2 separate regions of the Homo sapiens genome follow, and region 2 is linked to region 1. The links are contacts of gene promoters, found by promoter capture Hi-C in blood cells and fetal thymus (Javierre and others, 2016). All regions are on one chromosome and are shown on one strand. The core of a region is centred on a gene start or on the middle of the fragment in contact, and the rest is flanking DNA. Distances in the headings are between cores, read along the strand shown.

Region 1 (7,274 bases), core at 2,286-4,785:
AGGCGCGTGCCACCATGCCCGCCTAATTTTTGGTATTTTTAGTAGAGATGGGGTTTCATCATATTGGCCAGGCTGGTCTCAAACTCCTGACCTCAGGTGATCCGCCCGCCTCGGCCTCCGAAAAGTGCTGGGATTACAGGTGTGAACCACTGCACCCGACCAGGTATTTTTTTTTTAATCCTCTCCCTCCTCCTGCCTTCCACCCTCAAGTAGGTCCCAGTGTCTGTTGTTCCCCTCTTTGTGTCTTGTTTTTTAGAGATAGGGTCTCACTCTGTCACACAGACTTAGAGTTCAGTGGCATGATCATAGCTCACTGTAGCCTTGAGCTCCTGCATTTAAGCAATCTTCCTGCCTCAGCCTCCTGAGTAGCTAGAACTACAGCTATGTGCCACCACATCTGGCTATTTTTTTTTTTTTTTTTTTGAGACAGGGTCTGGCTCTGTTCCCCAGGCTGAAGTGCAGTGGTGCAATTTTGGCTCACTGCAGCCTCCGCTTCCTGGACTCAAGCGATTTTCCCACCTCAGCCTTCTGAGTAGCTAGGACCACAGGTGCACACCGCCTTCCCCTACTTTTTATATATTTTTTTGTAGACAGGGTTTCACCATGTTGCCCAGGCTGCTCTTAAACTCCTGGCTTAAGTGTTTGGATTACAGGCGTGAACCACTGCAGCCGGCTAATCTCTTGGCTACCATAAATGGTGCTGCCATGAACGTGGGTATACAAGTTTTTGTTTGAACACTGTTTTCAATTCTTTTTAGTATTTTGGGGGGTATACCCAGGATAAAATTACTGGGTCATATGGCAATTCTATGTTCACCTCTTTGAGAAACCACCAAGTCTCTAACTCATTTTTATGTTTACAATTTACAAGGTGTCTTGATCACCAGTTAGAAGAAGCTGGACAGCTGCAGCCAAACCCCTAGGTTGGACCCAAAGAGGTCTCTTTTTCTTTCTTTCATTCATTCATTCTTTTTCTTTTTTTTTTTTTTTGAGACAGAGAGTCTCACTCTGTCACCCATGCTGGAGTGCAGTGGCCTGATCTCGGCTCACTGCAACCTCCGCCTCCCACGTTCAAGCAATTCTCCTGCCTCAGCCTCCCGAGTAGCTGGGACTACAAGCGCCCACCACCACTCCCCACTAATTTTTGTATTTTTAGTAGAGATGAAGTTTCGCCATGTTGGCCAGGCTGGTCTCGAACTCCTGGGCTCAAGTCATCTGCCTGCATCAGCCTCCCAAAGTGCTGGGATTACAGGCATGAGCTACTGTGCCCGGCCTTCTTTTTCTTTCTTTCTTCCTTCCTCCTTCCTCCTTCTTCTTCTTCTTCCTTCATTTGACTTTCAGGTCAAAGAGGTCTCTTTTTAAAAACTACACTGACTAGAACAGCCAGACTTGATGTGAGCCAAGTTTGTTCCAAGGCAAGCTTACACGCAGGGCTTTAAACAGCTTTCTCTGCTGCTCTGCATGTCACGACATGAACTGGCTGGGCAGGAATACCTTCCTGCCTCCTAGGCATTCTTGGTTTTCCATTATATTACACACACTTCTGAAAAAAGATGTTAACTACCTAACTTACAAGTTTCTCTCCTCTTTGTTGGAGTTCAGATTAGCACCTGGGGTCAATGCAGAAACAGTGCTCGGGGACAGGTTCTATGCCCCAATCCTGGGAGAGGCGAGTCCTTGCATGGTTAGAGAACAGGGCCTCCCAAACACTAGATGAGATGATGGAAAAATTCTCCATCCAGGGCAGGCTTTTACCATATATTTTGCCTGACAGCACTGCTCAGTGATTCTGACTCTTATCAATCCACAGATATTGGAGGTGAGCCTACTCTACTTGTATATTGTAGGTTGTCCACCCTCTGGGCTTGCCAGAGCCACAGGAGATAATCCTACTACAGGCATTGTTTACTGCAGCCAATCTACTGAGTCGAGGCTTCTCGGTCATTAACCCAACCCCAGGGAGTAACTGATTAGTACCGATTTTAAAATTTAAACCTGTTCGGGAGTTTCTTGGAATGCTGACCTCTTACCTCCGCTCCCTTATACATACGAAGTTTCTGAGCCACAGGAGCCCAAAGCTACGTTGCATTGCCCAAAACAGGGACAGACCAAAGTGGCTTTTTCCACTTGAAACTAAATACTAAGAATGAAGAGGTCGGCTCTCGGGGGTCCCGGTTAAGCAGTTTCTCTGCCAACCCACAGCTGTCACTTGTGGCTTGTCTCCTGGCCTCCTTTCAGGTGTCCTGGCCTGAATCTGCTGTTAGGACAGAAAAAAAGTCCCTGGACGGGTCATATCCTCTGTAATCTGGCAGGAAAGCTAAAATTTGCGTGCTCCCATTCCTCGTTGTGTTTGTGTATCTGCTTCCTTGTTGGGAAGAGCCTACATCACAGTGTCCGGTGTAGGGGATTTTCACCATGACCTCACCCTCCTGCTGCCACTCGCTAATTCCGGCGCGGCCAAGCGTCCCTGAAGTCACATCACAGCCCAGGTGGAATGCACGAGTGAGCCATTAAATGCCCCTGGTAGCACGTCTCAAGTGAACATCAACTCCAGTTCTTTCCCCTCACAGAGAGCCCTGGTAGGGGTCTGAAAATGCCAGAAAGAGCTGGAAGTGGGGGTGGACGACGTCTGGTTACCGTTCTGGGATTCGGAGACTAGAAGGTCAAGGGAGTCACTTTAAGAAAACACACCAGGCCTGGGCCTGGTGGCTCTGTCTGGAATCCCCGCACTGTGGGAGGCCGAGGCTAGAGGATCGCTTGAGCTCAGGAGTTCGAGACCAGCCTGGGCAACATAGGGGGGAGCCCCTGTATCTAAAAATAAATACAAAAAATTTAGCCGGGTATGATGGCACACGCCTGTACTCCCAGCTACTCGGGAGGCTGAGGCGGAAGGATGGCTTGAACCTGGGAGGCGGAGGTTGCAGTGAGTCGAGATCGAGCCAATGCACTCCAGCCTGGGCGACAGGGTGAGACTCCGTCTCAAAAGAGAAAAAATAAAATGAAATAAAGAAAATGCACCAAAGGCCTGCCAGGCTCACGCCGGCTGTTCTGTTCGAATAACTTTCGAGTCCGTGGCCTCGAAATGGGTCGGGTGGGCGGTGACAGCGGGCAGCGGGCGCGCAACGCGGGAGAAAGGGAGGCTAAGTGGGAGCCCAAAGAACCGCGTCCGGGACCTGGTCTCCGGCCTCCCGGCCTTGGGGAAGGAGCCCTTCTGCCCACAAGTGGGCTCAGGCCATGAAAGGGAAACAGAAAGTCGGGCTCCCCAGCCTGGCCCACGTGACCGCGGTTCCTCAGCCCTCCCCGCGCGCCCGGCCGCGGCTGCGGGCGCGGGCACCCGAGCGACACATCGAGCTCGTGACTCGCCGCCCAGGGCGGGAGGCGGAGAAGCGGCCGCGGCGTGCGAGCGCGCCTCCGGGAGGCAGCGGGAGCGCGCACGCTCCGGGGCCACCGCCCCTCCGGGGCCGGGCCCGCCCTCCTTCCCTCCCTCCCTCCCCCGCTGTCCTGGCCCGCCCTGCCCGGCCCGCCCTGCGAGTCAGTTCGCTGGTTCCCTCCCTCCCTGGGCGCGCTCGGGCCGCCGCCGCGCTCCCCGCCCTCGAGCCTCGGTGCCGGAGCCGCCCGCCGCCGGAGGAGGAGGTGGAGGGAGCCGGAGGGGCCCGCCGAGGCGGCGGCGGCGGCGGCAAGATGGCGGACTTCCTGCCGTCGCGGTCCGTGCTGTCCGTGTGCTTCCCCGGCTGCCTGCTGACGAGTGGCGAGGCCGAGCAGCAACGCAAGTCCAAGGAGATCGACAAATGCCTGTCTCGGGAAAAGACCTATGTGAAGCGGCTGGTGAAGATCCTGCTGCTGGGCGCGGGCGAGAGCGGCAAGTCCACCTTCCTGAAGCAGATGCGGATCATCCACGGGCAGGACTTCGACCAGCGCGCGCGCGAGGAGTTCCGCCCCACCATCTACAGCAACGTGATCAAAGGTGCCGGGCCGGGAATGGGGGCCGGGGGTTAAGGGCAGGGGGGCTGGGGCGGCGGCGGGTGCGGGGCGGGGCACCGCCCTGGTCCGCTGTGTCGCTGGCGAAGGAACGGGCCCGGCGGGCGGGCTGGCGGGAAGGGGGCGCGCCCCGGCAACTGGCCCTGCCCGCCCGGGGTGCCCTCGCGCCCCAGGGCGAGAGGATGCTCGGGGTCGCCCTGCTCTCCCGCTTGTCTCCCCGGTGGGCGTCACGGCCATTCCCCCACCCCCCACCGCGTCCTGGTCTCTCCCCCTGCGAGAGGGAAGTGGGGCGAGCTGGGTGCTGCCTCGGGGTGTGGGCAGACCTCTCCTGTCCTCCCCGCTGCGGATGAGGCAGGAACACCAATAGCAGCCCTAGCCGCTTCACCCCCATCCCCTGCTCGGGCGATGTGGGCCGAACCTCGCTACCCTGGCTGGGTGACCCGAGTCACATGGGGTCGCATGCGCTCCCAACTCCCTGCTTCCTTGGCCGTCTCCTAAGCAAGCGAGTTCTGGAACCGTCGCAATAAGGGAACTTTTTGCCCGAGACTTCTTGTCAAGGGCGTAGGGTGACAGCCTCCTTTTGGGCGAGAATATGAAACTTGAGGAGTGTCAGGTTGACTGTACTGGAATCAGGAGAGAGTGGACCCATACAGTTAGCATGAAAATGTAGCATCTGTGCTTTTTCGCCCCAGTGTCACGGTCAGGTAGGATGTTTGCGTGTGATTTCTGTGCAACACGTTCCACTCTCCTTTTCGCTAAGTAACTGGGGGCTGGCAGGAAGGGAGTACCACTGCTTCTATTTAGATGAAATGTAGTAGTAAGAAGACTGGCCTAAAAGTCATGTGGATCCTGTACAGATGGAGACAATGAATGAGTGTTGAGTTAGATAATTGGCTCGGCTCTTTATTGACAGTAGTTTTAAAATTAAACTTTGTTCTTAAGTGAAAAATAAACAAGTTGTTTATTTCTGGGCATTCAAAGAAATCGAAAAGATGGTTTTTATTTTGTCATTTGAAAGATAATTAACACTCGTTTCTGCGTGTCAAGTATGTTCTATAGAAAAGGCATTTTGGCAAAATTTAGGTGCAGCGCCTGGTAACTCAGGTGCATCTGGATTTTATTTTATCTGGGGAGCAGTTTAGGAGTTTGCTACAGATTGCAGGTCTTTTTAAGTGGGATTTTTGTTCAGGAAGTACATAAGGGACTTCTGCATGTCACCCCCCCGCCCCCTCCCCGCCAACCGCCTCCCGAGCTTCCAGCGTTTGGGTAAAGGAAAACTGCCTGAAGAGCCAGGCATTATGGAGTAATGAATTAGAGAGAATCACTAGACCACAGCCAGCTCTAGCCCTAGTACCTCTGCAGTTAAACTATAAAGAACAGTTGTATTTATCCTGCTGTAATGTTTAGCTCAAAACTAATTAAGGTCTCTTTCAAGGCTGCAGACTCTGCCTTGACAGTCCTTAATTGAAGGTACCTTTGTAACCTGATGCAGCTGAACTTAAGGAATTATGTTAATGAATAGCATCAACATGTTAACTGACTGTGAGCCTGGTAAACACCTCGTTCTTAATGTACACTGAGTTGTAAGTGTGATCTACGTTGAGCATTGATTATGAGATGATGTAAGTCATCAGGAATCTAGTTTTTTCAAGTTGACATGAAATTTGACAGTAGAACAGTTTCTCAGGCTGGGCGTGGTGGCTCACTCCTGCAATCCCAGCACTTTGGGAGGCCAAAGTGGGAGGATGGCTTGAGCCCAGGAGTTCCAGACCAGCTGGGCTACATAGCCAGACCTCGTCTCTATTAAAAAACAAAAACAAAAAAACCCCACCCGTTTTTCAGTTATTCAGATGACTTCCTAATAGCCAAGTGACTGTTCAGATTGATCAAACTTAATAAAAGTAATAGATCAGTGATAGGAAAAATGAGTTTCAACTAACCTCTGTGAGTTGGAGTCCGACTTTGTATTATTTTGCAGTTGATCTTCCTCCCTTTTAGGGAAATTGAAGGCCATCCTGTAACTTAAACTGGATTGAAACTTGGGCTGGAAGAAGTTTTTAAATTTTGAATGTGTTGCTAGAAGACTCAATGTTGGGTTAGGGTGCCGAAGCAACAAACAGAACATGGAGCTATAGTAGTTGGTTCTTAGTGTTTCATAAATGAACATCTTTTAGGCTCATAAAACCTTGGTTGTGTCTGTTTTCTTCTGAGCTTGGACATTGTTGGTCTGTGCAGCATAACTTCTTTTTCTTTCTTGAGTTAGATTGTTTTTTGACTACCTTCTATCCTAGAAGTTATTTTATAAATTGGAACATGTTAAAAATCCTTCAGAGAGAGGAATTGTGCTAATAGTATTTGCTTTTCAAGGCTCTAATTTTAAGACAGTGAGCAACTGTTATTTTTTTTAACCTCTGAGAAGTTACATTTGTTTTCGATGTTGGTCTTCATTTTTGAAGAAGGTTTGTCTAGGTTAATTCAGAAGTATAAGGAAATAATACTGGAATAAAAACTTATGATAATATGTAATGACTCCTCTCCATACATTTTTTTTCTTCTTTTTAAACAAAGGTATGAGGGTGCTGGTTGATGCTCGAGAGAAGCTTCATATTCCCTGGGGAGACAACTCAAACCAACAACATGGAGATAAGATGATGTCGTTTGATACCCGGGCCCCCATGGCAGCCCAAGGAATGGTGGAAACAAGGGTTTTCTTACAATATCTTCCTGCTATAAGAGCATTATGGGCAGACAGCGGCATACAGAATGCCTATGACCGGCGTCGAGAATTTCAACTGGTAAGAGATTTGCTCTTTTAAAACGTGTGGTTTTATTTTAATGATGTTTAGTAATACAGGTTGCACATCCCTAATGCGAAAATTCGAAATGTTCCCAAATCTAAAAGTATTTGAGATGGAGGAACAGACTGAAAGGCTAAGGCACAGACCTAATGTGTCCTAGTCTCTAATGACTACGTGTAAAAATAGTGTATAAAATTACCTTTAGGCTACATATCTTAAGGTATATATGAAACATAAATGAATTTCTAGTTTAGACTTGAGTCCCATTCCCAGCATATCTCATATGTATGCAGATATTTCAAAAATCTGAAAAAATTCAAAATCCAAAACACTTCTGGTCCCAGGCATTCGGATAAGGGACACTCAACCTGTATCTGATTTTAGCACACTTTTTTCACTGACTTCCATAATTTAATGTATCTATCCAAAATTATAGCCTCAGAAATTTGTTTTTTTGTTTTTGGGGGGTTTGTTTTGAGACGGAGTCTCTGTTGCCCA
Region 2 (7,225 bases), core at 1,661-4,160, 1.4 Mb before region 1:
CAGCCTAAACCACTGAAACAACTCCCATCAGCTATCCCCACTCTGTGCTTTCCTTGCAGCATCGAAAGCTGTTCCTCCAAGGCTAGTACGGGCTCCTTAGCAAAACAGCTACAGTCAGGACAGAAATATGGTGTGGCCCAGGGCTCAAGCTATTTCATCCCTTGGACACCATCTGGGAAGCCAGTAGGTGCAGCGGATTTTTTGGCCTTTGTCTTTTCTGCCATCTATTTCATTCACTTGCCTCGCAGTCAGTCCCCAAATAATCTCCAACAGCAGAGAAGGGAGCTGGAAGCAGCACAGAACCTGTGGTTGGAAGCCAGCACAGGGGATGACAATTTTAAAGTCTAGATGTTCGAGAGTTTTAGAGATCTATCATCCCCAAACCCACGGCTGAGAACACCTGGGCATCACATCTGGGCAGGATCTTTGACTATTCCAAACCCTTGGTTTGGGGCAATGGCCTCTTATAGAGCCTTGGATGGGAAGAAAACTTAGAATAGGCCACTTACGGCTCTTAAACTTGGGTTGGACAAGAGGAAATTTAGAATGAGCAGCAGTATATACCTGGTATTAAAAAGAGAACAAAGACACCTCAGAAGTACAATGAGTTTATTCATTTCCTAGGGTTGCCCCAGCAAAGTACCACAAGCTGGGTAACTCAGAACAGGAATCTATTCTCAGAATTGCTACTGGAGGACAAAAGTCTGGAATCAAGGCATTGATGGGGCTGGTTCCTTCTGGAAGCTCTGAGAAAGAATCTGTTCCTCATCTTTCACTCCTAGTTCCTGGTGGCTCCTGGCAAATCTTGGCATTCCTCGGTTTGTAGATGCATCGTTCCAATCTCTGCCTCCAGTATCTCGTGGCCTTCCTCCTGTGTGTCTCTGTGTCTTCACCTGGCCTTCTTACGAGAACAACAGTCAATGGATTTAGTGTCTACCCTAATCTACCACCACCTTAACTATTTACATCTGCAGAGACCCTATTTGCAAATAAGGTGACATTGTGAGGTTCTGGACGAGCATGAATTTTGAGGGAACATTGTTCAGCCCAGTACAGAGAGAAATCAGAAAAGAGAGAGCAAATAAATGAGTGTAGCTAGGCCTACTGCACAGGCTGATATGAACGTCTCACTCCCTTCTCAGATGTTCATTTACAGATGAGGAAAAGAGCAGAAGGCAGGCAGGCACTGAAGTTTCTTCCCACCCTTGTGTTCTTAGATATTAAGTGGAAAGAAAACCCCACACAGGTAAGATCCCAGTTAATCAAAATGTCACAGCAGGGCCTTTTCTCCAAGTCCACTAAGTTGATGGATGAGTAAGTTTGACTCAGCCAGACTTCCATCACCTTTAAAAGTTAATCAGTGTTTACAGAATAAAAGAGATGAAGATAATCCTTAGAAATTTGGAATGATAAATGATCATAAAGCCTATGGCTTCGCTGATGCTTCTGCATTTACCATCATTTTCCTGGCAGCTCCAGTTCAAAGTGCTTCGGGGGACCTTTTCTTCTCACAGCATCAACATAAATGGCCGTCTTCTATATGTGAGCACTCAGCACTCCTGGCAATTTCGTGGCAGCTGTGTGGCGATAAGAGGCCCTTTATTTTTTCAAGCACATTTGTGAAGTGTGTGGGGAGCCGACTAAAATTAATGAACTTTTCTTGCCAAAAAGAACTAGGCTCCAAATTCGGTCATGTATTGCCAAATAGACGGTGTGAATGAAAGTCAGTTCGTGGGGAGAATAAGAACATTTCAAAGGAGCACAAGTTGAATACAAGCAGTCCCTGACTCACTTATGTGGACTTAAAGATATTCCTCATCTGGGAAAAATAAGTCCAGACCTATAGCTGCGTCGACCACAGTTCCCTCCATCCCCAGTTTCTCTCAGCCCTCTGCATCCCCTCAACCCCCACCTTCCCTCCACTGCTGCCTGGGTCCGCCATCTGCCGGCCCTTCCATCCTGTGGTCAGGCACCTGCCCTCACCTGGCTCACCCCAGGGCCCACAATTGCACAGAGTAAAAAGGAGAAAGGAAGGAATCTCCAGTAGAAGCTTCTCTGCCCTGGGGCTGGCCACCTTCCAAACCTTAAACCTACTGATACGGTTTAGCTGTGTCTCCACCCAAATCTCATCTCGAATTGTACCTCCCGTAAATTCCTACACATTGGGGGAGGGAGCCAGTGGGAGTTATTAATTGAATCATGGTGGACTGTTCTCGTAGTAGTGAAGAAGTCTCATGAGATCTGATGGTTTTAGAAAGGGAAACTTGTTTCGCTTGGCTCTTACTCTTGTCTGCTGCCATGTGGATGTGCCTTTCACCTTCCGCCATGATTGTGAGGCCTCCCCAGACACATGGAACTGTGAGTCCATTAAACCTCTTTCTTTTGTAAATTGCCCAGTTTCGGGTATGTCTTTATCAGTAGCATGAAAACAGACTAATACACCTACCCAGATCCTGCCTTCTCCAACCCTAAACACCCAAATCTGGGTTTTCTACTAAAAAAGAAAAGAATGTTTTATCATTTATCCCAAATTCCATGACACTCACCTCCATGGTCTTTGCTGTTACCTGGCATTTTTGCAGCCCCAGGTCCAGCCTGCATTTGTCTGCAACTGAGGCATTAGGCCCCTGGGACTGTCAACCCCAAAATGCTTTCCCCAGGAAGCCAGCACACTGACCAGGGAGTCCACAGGGCCTTAGCACCTACAAAGCTGCCACATGCAAGTGACTGCCCAGAGAGGGCAGTGGGCTTGGTTCATCCAGCAGACTGTAATTGAAGCTGAATGCAATTAATTGTATAATTTTGAGTCATTTCAGATTAATTCTGCTAAAATCACAACATGAAACTAGGGCATGAGGAGGAATTGTTTTCAGAAAGAAGCCAGACATAAATAAAGTCTACATAAGCACTGGCTTCACATCCAATTCTGACAGTTTAGCATGATAACAACTGAGGTTATCAATAAACAAATTAATTTAGCCCAAATACACAGAAATCATATCCCACAGCTTTAAAAGCCTGGATGCTCCTGCTATTGGATCTGAAAAAACCCAAAGTATTCTGACTTGCATGTAAGCTAAATGGTCACACTTAAAACCTTAAAAAATATCTGCGTGTTTACATCAGGGAGAGAAAATTTGAGTAAAACCCAATGTTAGTCAGAACAACCCAGAAGAGTCCCAGGAAGCCCTACTCTGATTTTTCTCCCCAGTGGATGCCCAGCTCTTAAACCAATTCGACCTACAGCAGACGAGGGCGGCGCAAAGGGAGGCAAGCAGGGCAGTTCTAAAGATCAGGGGGGCTGGGCGCAGTGGCTCACGTCTATAATCCCAGCACTTTGGGAGGCTGAGGTGGGCGGATCACCTGAGGTCAGGAGTTCGAGACCAGCCTGGTCAACATGGCGAAACACGTTTCTACTGAAAACACAAAAAATTAGCTGGGCATGGTGGCGGGCGCCTGTAATCTCAGCTACTTAGGAGGCTGAGGCAGGAGAATCGCTTGAACCCAGGAGGTGGAGGTTGCAGTGAGCTGAGATCAAGCCACTGCGCTCCAGTCTGGGTGACAAAGCAAGACTCTATCTCAAAAAAAGAAAAAAAAAAAGAAAAAAAGGATCACGGGACCCAAGGCAAGGGGACTGTGGATCTGTACGAGGGCACATGGGTTCTAGTTCCCAGTCTTTTCCTGGGATTCCCTCAAGTCCCCAATGCCTGCCTTACCCCAGAGCCTCTGTTCCAAGTCAGGAGCTCCATCTTCAGTGGTTTCAAGCTTGGGATATTTCCACATCCGTGACCACCTAGCCAGTGGGAAGTGAGGGGAATGAGGGCTCCAGTTCCATTTCCTAAGCCACTGTGGGGAAAAATATTCTTGGCCTTCCAGGCAGGACTCCTAAATGCCACCAACTGTACAAATGTGGCTGAATGTGACACACAGCACATCTCGATGCTACAAGCTCAATGGGGGTTCAAACAGGCACTTGCGGTTAAGACACCAGCCCTTATAAACCTCATAATTTCTAGTTATGTGTTTTGTTTGTTTTTTTGTTTGTTTGTTTTTGAGACGGAGTCTCGCTCTGTCATCCAGGCTGGAGTGCAGTGGTGCCATCTCGGCTCACTGCATGCTCCGCCTCCCAGGTTCATGCCATTCTCCTGCCTCAGCCTCCTGAGTAGCTGGGACTACAGGCACCCGCCACCACGCCCAGCTAATTTTTTGTCTAGTTATGTTTTGTGACCCAAACAGTCACTGTAGAAAGGAAGTTCTGGAACCCACTGGTGGGTTTCTTGGATGTTGTTTTCATCACAGGTGCAGAGGCCGCATTCCTGAAGGCTTCAGTGCAATAGGAACAAGCCGGGCCAGTTCCTATCAGGCAACAAAAACACTCCTCGAGGTTCTCAGAACGCACAACATTTCAAGAGGAAATAAAAACCCCAAGATAAATTTCGGCAGATCCTTATTCTCGCTATACACAGCTGCACTTCTCCCTCCTCACCCTGCTTCTTCCCTAGTTCTGTCTTCCTGTTAAGCCTCACAAAAACAGATGATCCTTTCCCGAAGGGACCACATAGAAGGTTCTGGAAGCACCTGTGCTGCACCTGGATTCTGGGGCTCTCCATTCCTATCTGAGGTCTGGCTCCTTAGCAAACGCTACATTGGCTAAGAAAAAGATGAAGACTTCAATGAGGTCATCATAGGCACCCAAATAAAAAGAAAGGAACAGAGGTGCAGACAGTTCTCTGGAGAAAATGAAGCCACCGGCAGTATTTTCAGTGAATCAAATTGGAGGGTCACCTGATGTCTTGGTTCGCTGGGTCAGCTTGGACGCACCCTGCTGCATGGAGGGGCCATACACGGCTTCATATAAATGAGGGACGCACACTGCAAAATGAAATGTCTGCTGGAGGCTGTGGTAGAGGAAGCCCTAATCTGATTTACCTCCCGGCGGTGTCCTGCTTTCAATCCAATTTTCTGGACAGTTAGATTGAGATAGAATCAAAATGGGATTTGCCAGGAGCAAAAGAAAGATATTTCTGTCCCCTGGCCTTTGTCTTTATTAGAGATCACCCTAGAGTTAGCCAAATTGTACAGGAAATCCAAGGTTCATCATACAACTTTGCTTCAGAGCCTTTGACTCAGGAGCTGTGGCTGGCGGGCAGTGCTGTGGACAGGAAGGCAGACCTAGGGATCCTTCCTTGCCCCGGCCCCTCCTCTCCATCTCTCGCCCCACTCCCTCTGCTCCACCCACCCGTTAGGGGGCGCTTCCTTATCCAGGCTCCTGACCAGAAAAGCAAATACAAATATGATCAAAGTACAACTACTCCTCCAAAATACCCGGTCAACCCTTAGACATTCGCTACAACATGAAAATTAAAATCCCTCTTCTCCTGTAGATGTATTCTAATTAGAAGAAACAGATGCTCATATCATTCTGTGAAAGAGCAAAATTTCATTCATATATGGCCTGCATGTTACCAAAAACAAAAGCCCAAAATGTGATAATAATCAAAAAGCATCTTCCACTGAACTTGTTTTAGGTAATAAATAAATAAATAAATAAATAAATAAATAAATAAATAAATTCTAACTCCGTATTCTAAAAGTTTTGAAATTAAAGAATGGAATCCTATTATATTCAATCATTAGAATATCCACACGTAGATCAAATCTGGAAAAAAGGCACAGTTTAAGTTTTAAGAGGATTTAATATGTGGCTTCACTAGACCAGCATGGATACTTTGTTCCCTTCTAAGATGAATAGCAATGTCTAATTTCCTAAATTTCATCATTTTAAATTAAGATATTACTTGGTTAATAGAGTCAAAGAGAGAACAGAGATCCACAGAACATATTCACTTCATCATTTCTTTATAGATCACTGGAAACACACCAAGTCTTCCTTTTCTTCCATTCACTCAACAATCTTAACAGAGAGACAGAGTGAGACCCACAGAGCAGGTCATGTTACTTTCAGCAAAATTCTAGAACTTCACTCAGCAGTAAACCCCTGCATCACAGTTCCAAACAGTGCTATTTTCATCAAAAGTTAAAAACCAAAATGTTTTACTAATCGCATCAGTTAGCGGTTTTAAAAAATAATTCAGCACAGCTTATGAAGACAAATGTACTAGTACAGGGGCCCATGATTGCGTAACCAAAACATCAGAACAGCATGAGCTGGTACCAGCTTTTGCGGTAATTACCTTCTGTGAAAGCAGACGCCTACCCTTCCCCAAAACTGTCCCTGCAAAGAGAGTGTTAAGTGTGTGGATGAAAGTCATCCGGTAATAACTAATCCACAAGAGAAAAAGTGCACCTGTGCTGAGGTCTTCTTCCAACCGCAGCTTTCTGTTTCCTCCCCTGCCTCCCTTTTCCTGGGACTTCTCTTTCCACCTGCATCCCACCTCACTGTGGAGGCCTTCTGTGAACTGTGCACCCTCTGACCACACACCTGTGGGACATGGCCGTCTTCAGGTACCAAAGATGGGGACCCACGTTCATTCATCAGACTCTGTGAAAGGCATTTCTAACTCGTTTTACTTAGCACTCAGTACCACCCCTCTGCGGTACCATTGCCCCTACTTCCAGACAAGGAGACTGTGACTAAGAGGGACTGTGTCTCTCTTCCACCAAGCTGTTCCAATTCTTGCAGACTGGCTGGGGCATCCCTGCTCTGTCCTGTGAACTTGGCTCTGCTGGCCCCCGATGAGCATCTCTCTCTCCAGAACAGGAGGTCTTTGAGGTCCCAGCATGATTCCCAGCATGAAACAGGAACTCCACTCAGTATGAGTTAACGATCTTGTCAAAGGTCACCCAGTTAGTATGGGATAAAAATGTAATTCCAAAGCCTCCACTCTTTCCAATGACATTCTATTGTGGCTATAAACAATGCTTAAAAAAAAAACAAAAACAAAAAACACTCCCACTCCCCAAGGTATACCTCCTTGAAAATGAACATGAAGCAAAATAAGAAATCACTTCTTCAAAGTAATCAACGTGTACAATATAGGCTGCTTCCAAACTGAAGCGCATGGCAGAACAAAACAAAACAAACAAAAAAACAACAACAAAAAAGCTGCCTACACCTGAGGCCGTTCGTCCAGCATCCAACCACGGTGGGAGATTTCACTCCTCCCACCACTGTCTCCACCTTTACACAGGCGCTGCAGGTGCACACCCAAAAACAATTACAGCAACAACCTCAGCCCTGGAAGCCAGCCCCCTGTCCTGGTCT

The links. Contacts are between HindIII fragments. The CHiCAGO score rates a contact against its expected background, and 5 or more counts as called.
Region 2: a contact is called between a fragment that was not itself captured here and the fragment with the promoter of GNA13 in region 1, in 1 of 17 cell types (M0 macrophages). The highest score is 5.1, in M0 macrophages.

Annotation. Positions count from the first base shown.
Region 1 is chr17:65,053,001-65,060,274 of GRCh38, reverse strand. GNA13 (G protein subunit alpha 13) reads left to right here and starts at 3,535. Exons shown (of 4, transcript NM_006572.6): 1 at 3,535-3,964; 2 at 6,547-6,773. The coding sequence starts at 3,682. RefSeq lists silencers at 3,248-3,757, 4,038-4,297. The HindIII fragment of the contact is 5,158 bases long and covers 1,423-6,580 here.
Region 2 is chr17:66,449,692-66,456,916 of GRCh38, reverse strand. The region is part of intron 2 of PRKCA (protein kinase C alpha); the gene reads right to left. Among named protein-coding and RNA genes, the nearest start is that of PRKCA-AS1, 36 kb to the right of the region's middle. The HindIII fragment of the contact is 1,715 bases long and covers 2,053-3,767 here.